Linked DNA regions of Homo sapiens: region 1 is linked to region 2. Evidence: promoter capture Hi-C in human tissues and cell types (Jung and others, 2019). All regions are on one chromosome and are shown on one strand. Each heading gives the region's core, a stretch centred on a gene start or on the middle of the fragment in contact. The rest is flanking DNA. Distances are from core to core; before and after follow the strand shown. Region 1 holds the start of GPD1 (glycerol-3-phosphate dehydrogenase 1). Region 2 overlaps DIP2B (disco interacting protein 2 homolog B).

What was found. Contacts are between HindIII fragments. The study calls those that stand out against the background at their distance.
Region 1: a contact is called between the fragment with the promoter of GPD1 here and a fragment that was not itself captured in region 2, in 3 of the 25 tissues and cell types used here (dorsolateral prefrontal cortex, hippocampus and mesenchymal stem cells).

Annotation. Positions count from the first base shown.
Region 1 is chr12:50,102,681-50,105,380 of GRCh38, reverse strand. It overlaps GPD1 (glycerol-3-phosphate dehydrogenase 1), which reads right to left and starts at 1,373. Exons shown (of 8, transcript NM_005276.4): 1 at 1,290-1,373; 2 at 630-807. The coding sequence starts at 1,330. RefSeq lists an enhancer at 2,314-2,363. The HindIII fragment of the contact is 8,009 bases long and covers 1-2,700 here.
Region 2 is chr12:50,536,657-50,539,460 of GRCh38, reverse strand. All of the region lies in intron 1 of DIP2B (disco interacting protein 2 homolog B), which reads right to left. Among named protein-coding and RNA genes, the nearest start is that of DIP2B, 33 kb to the right of the region's middle. The HindIII fragment of the contact is 3,334 bases long and covers 1-2,804 here.

The sequences.
Region 1 (2,700 bases), core at 124-2,623, 430 kb after region 2:
CCCTCCCCCCAGCTACCACTCTGTCTCCCTCCAGCTGTCCTGGGCTCTTGAGGACTCCTGGAAACCTCATCCCAGCACTCTCCTATCCCTTGGCTGTGGGACAGTGCGGGAGGCCAAAAGCAGCCTGGGCTTGGCAAAAGAAAGAGCTCAAATAAGATTTCATCACCCAGCTCCTCAGGAACCCCAGCTGGGAAGGGGGAGCCCCAGCCTTTCTGCTCTCTTCCCTGCTTCCCCTTTCCAGGTGGGGAGAGCCACGTGGATTTGACCAAAGACCGTAAGTCCAAGGAGCAGCCTCCAAGTCGGCTACTCACTCAGTGAATGAGTAACAGGATTAGTGCCGGAGGCAGGCACTACTGGACCCCAAGTCTGGGAGCCCAGTCTTTGGCTGCCATGGAGACCAACTTGTTCTCCCATCCCTTCCCCACCCACCCGCCTGGGAGCCTGTGAGGGGAAAGCATAGGTTCTCCTCAGTCCTCAGGAAAGGGCCCAGAGCAGCCCTCCTGAGACCTTCCCAAGTCCTGCTGCACCTGAAGCGGCCCTCTCAGCAGGAGGCACCTGTTGAGTAAGGTCGGCTCCAACTCCTGGCCCTCCCTTCCTCTCCCTGTTCTTCGCAGGGTGTTGGGGCTCACCACATTTGGGGGCAACTTGTGCCCTGGCAGGTATTTGACATTCTCATGCTGCGTGTTGATGATCTCAGTCAGCTTTTTGCCTCCAATGTCTTCCTCAAATACCCACATGGTCACCCGTGGGTCAAACTGTGCCAGCTGGGCTGCATTGCCACCCACGATCTTGGCGATGGCTGAGCCCCTGGTGGGAGGGGGAGCACAGGAAAGTACAGGAGGAGGGAACAGTGGCAGGAGTTGGGGCAGCGCCCCACCTCAGGATCTCACAGCAGCCCCCCAGGCTGTTCACTCCTACCTACCTTCCTTATCACCTCCACTCCCATGACAAATAGTCCCCAGTGACCTGGCAGTAGAAAGGAGACTCAGTCTCCTCACCCTTTGCTACTAGAGAAGGGAGCCCCACTTCTCATCTTCCCACCCCCAAACTCAAGCGGCTCTTCACATAGAGAGCTCTGGAGACGCCTTCCCATGGTGAACAGGTGCAGCTGCCCAGGAGGGCGGGGGTCAGGAGAGGGCCGGGCACCGTCTGTCCTGTGCTGCTATGATAGAAGATAGCAGCAGGGGCTGAACAGGAACCTGAGGGCCTTTCCCACCCATTCTGCCTCCTACCCACCTCTGTCTTGGGGGGCCTACCCTTCCCCCATATCACTTGACAGAGCTGCTTACCAGTTCCCGGAGCCTACAATGCAGACTTTCTTGCTAGCCATGGTGCCGCGTCTCTGCCTGAGCCGGCTCAGTGCCACACTCCCTAGCTCCTCTGCCGGCTAGGAGCATTTAACTCCACCACACGTGGGTGCAGCCAAGCCCCGCCCTCCAGGGGTGGGTGGGGAGGCTGGCGCCCAGGGAGATAGAGAGTCTGGCAGAGCCAGGGAAAGGAGAGACAGGGGTACAGACAGGTGTGGAACAGGAATGGGGCAGAGACTAGGCCCAGCTTTTTCTCCTGGGCTCATCGGCTGACAGTGCTGGCAAGCTTCTTCCCTTGGCCCCAGCCCAGCTTCCCACCATGGTCTCATTTTGAGGTCTGCTAAGAAAATAGCCCAGATAAGGAGCAGGTGACTGCTCTCCCTTGCTCCTTTCTGTCCCCCAGCATGAAATAAATTGTATTTAGCTTCAGTAGCAGCTAGGGGAATGCTTTTCAGAGGTAGGCTCCTCCATGACCCCCTATCCCCCCGCCAACCCTGCCACATATCCTCACAGGACCCTGTTCCACAGTTCTGTCCTCCAGCAGGCCCACGCTAGCTCCACTGCAGGGCTGGGGTGGGGGATGTGGGCCCACTTCCCACCTCTAAAGATGAGGCCACATAAGAGGTAAGGGCCTGCTTTGAGGACAGCCCAGCTCAAAAAAGGATGAGAGACTCCAGGTGCCTCAAAAGACAAGATTGTCTTGGTCACCCACAGAGGTCATCTTGGGGACTCATCCATGGGCCTCTCAGATGATCCCCACCCAAAAATGTGTTCTAGGGAAGGTGGGAAAGGTTAAAGTTAGAGAGCTCTGAGAATTGCGGTACACAATTTTGTTGTAGACTCTGGGCTTAAGAGGACAGGAGAGAATAGGAGGCAGGCAGAGTGCACACTGTCCTTGAAAGGCTTTGAGCCTCCTTCAACTCCTCCTCTCAGGGGTTTCCAAGGTACTGCCCCAGGGGCTTCATCAGGTGAATGGCTAGTTTGCAGAGGCCAGAAAAGGGGAAGGCAGGCAGTACCCGGGGCAGCTGTGTCCGTGGGGCTTTGTGGTCTCAGATGCTGTGATTGGGGGTAAGTTTGGTGTATGTTTTTTGGGGAAGGGCGAGAATGGAAGGAGCACCCTCAGCAGTTCAGGGCTCTGCATCGCCCACGGCCATCTGTTTGTCTAAGACGAGGGAAGCTCTGGTTTCCAGGCTGATCTGGAGAGTGGAGCAAGAGGCTCCTAACACTGTGCACCTTGGCCTAGAGGGCAGACACCACTGTGTGCTCATGTGCTGACCTCCTGGCTTGGCAGACGGCTAGGTGGGTGTTGCCATCCCCCTGGGCTGTTGCTGGCCAGCAACTGGTAACAAGCACTGGGCTACAGGGGAGTCTGTGTGCAACCCATGGGTAGGAG
Region 2 (2,804 bases), core at 100-2,599:
TTTTTAGTAGAGACGGGGTTTCACCATGTTGGCCAGGCTGGTTTCAAACTCCTGACCTCAGGTGATCCACCCGCCTAGGTTTCTCAAAAGTGCTGGTATTACACCACACCCGGCCTGTGCATACACTTTATATATATTCTTTTGTATGTAATATTCCATAAGAGATAGTGCCACTGCACTCCAGCCTAGGCGACAGAGCAAGACTCTGTCAAAAAAAAAAAAAAGAAAAAAGAAAAGAGCGAGCTACCTAGAGCCAAACGGGATGAAAGAGAAAAGACACATGCCTAGACACATCCTAATGAAATTTCAGAACTCCAAAGACAAAAAGCAAACCCTAAAAGCTTCCGAAGTATTCAAGTGGGCTACATTCAAATGACAATCAAATGAGACAAAGACGTTTTTGAAAGGCAAGAACTTAAAGCTCAACACGCATGCATCCCATATTAAAAACAGTAACTATTCCAAGTTTTTAAAAAATACAAGAAAAATGACAATTTAAAGTATAAGAAACAACAGCAGTTGAGTAAGACCTAAAAGGAGCATAGAAAGCTGGAAAGAAATTGAAAGAGGATTCACTAGATCTTGATGATTGGGCCATTCTCTTTGAAGCAGTTTGGTAATAAAATACTATGTTTGCTTTTCCCAGTATTCAACAGCACCTCTAGATTCCAAAGTAAATAATATTTACTTAATAATATTGCAAAAACTGTATGTGTGGAATATGTTTAGGCTTAATTTGTACATACAGAGTGAAGACTAATTTTTGTTATACAAAAGAGAATATAAACATTATTTACTTTGATAACAGAAAAATAGTAATATTATTACAAAAAAAAACTCAGGAAGAAAAGAGTACAAGAAATGGGTAAATTTCTCATGGTTCACAGAAGGGGATCAAGAGACACTGTTGACTGCAACATATTACTGAAAGTTACACTATTAACTACAGGAACTACAAAACTGACTTTAGAAAGTAGCTACATTTTGGGAAGTGGGACTGGGCACGGAGGTGGGGTGGGGCTATTTTCCATTTCATACTTCTGTGTCCACTCCAAATTCATGCTGACTATCGGCAATGCTTTCAGTGTTTCATTAATTCCTCTCACACTCCCCGATGGCTGATGCACTTGTTCTCTTCACATTTCTCAAACCCTTAAGCTTTCACCTTTCTGAACCTTTTCCCTTTATCCCCACACCAACCTCCCTCTGAGGTGGAATTTTTCACTCATCCTCTTCTTCTTATTAGAGAAGGAGAGAACAGCAGCCCTGCCCTCCTGTTCTCAAGCAGCTCACCTCTTCCACACATCCAGAGATCTAACCTATGCCCAGCTCTCCCACACCAACACAAGCTTTTCTTTCCTCTGTCTCTTTCCCTTAGCCCTATGAAGACTCCTCGGTATCTATTAAGAAGTAATAGTAAAGTAAAATAAATAAGTACTCTTTTGAATCCATCCTTGTTCTTTATTCCTTTTTCCCAACTTCAAAATAAGAAGCCTGCGCTCACCATTTCTATGTCCTCATTCCCGTTTTCAATCTAGCCTCTGATTCTGCCACAGGACTGTAACTGACAAATCCAGTCCTTTGTATTCTCTCACTGAATTATCCTAAGCTCTCCATAGGTTTAACATTACTATTTGTCTCCACAGAAGCACCACACCACCCACCCCAGTCCACCTCCTACTTCTGTGACTGATCACCCCTGTCATTTTGGATGACTCTTCTTTCTCCTCTAGCTTCCTAAACAGAGGCATTCCTCATTAGCTTCATTTTTTACTTTCCTTTTCAAAGATCTGATTCACCTGATGAATCACATGAAGATGATGCCCAAATCCTTCAACAGCTCCAGGATATAATTCACCACTTCTAACTGCCTATTGAACAGCCACTCGAATGTCCTCCCAATGCCATTTGTTGACTGGGATGGTCTTCCCACATTGTCATAGACTCCAACATGTCCAAAATTAAACTCTTCACCCCAAACCGGCAACTCAGATGTTTGTATATATAACACACTATCACTCGCCTGGTCACTCAAACTCAAAATCTGGGCCATTTTTTACTCAATCCCTACCTATTCCCTCACATCCTACCGATTTCCTTCCCTCAATGTTTCACAACAGGTAAGGTAAAAATGAATAAGACATGGTTTCTAGCCTCTGGGAAGAATAGAGAAGTGTAAACAAACAATTATAAAGCAATCTGGCAGGTGCAGTGGCTCTAGCCTATAATCCCAGCACTTTGGGAGGCCAAGGCAGGTGGATCGCTTGAGCTCAGGAATTCAAGACCAGCCTGGGAAACAAAGTGAGACCCTGTCTCTACAAAAAAAAAAAAAAAAAAAAAAAAAAATTAGAGAATAATAAACAAGCAATCTGGTAAGTGTGACCAAAAAAATTAAAAAAAAAAAAGCACAGGATAATGAGTTTGGGGGTAGGGGAGAAAGGAGATTAGGAGAAGGATTCAACAGGCTACAAGGTGTCAGAGTCAGAACTAAAGTCCTGTCCCCTAATCCTCACTAGGCCAAAACAACAGCACACACTCTGAATAATTAAGCATATGCCTTGCATTAAGACAGTTCAACATTAAAAAAAAAAAATACAATTATTGTGGCTCACACCTGTAATCCCAGCACTTTGGGAGGCCGAGGCAGGCAGATCACTTGAGGTCAGGAGTTCGAGACCAGCCTGGTCAACTTGGAGAAACACCGTCTCTACCAAAAAATACAAAAATTAGCTGGGCATGGTGGCATGCAACTGTAGTCCCAGCTACTCGAGAGGCTGAGGTGGGAGAATCGCTTGAACCCAGAA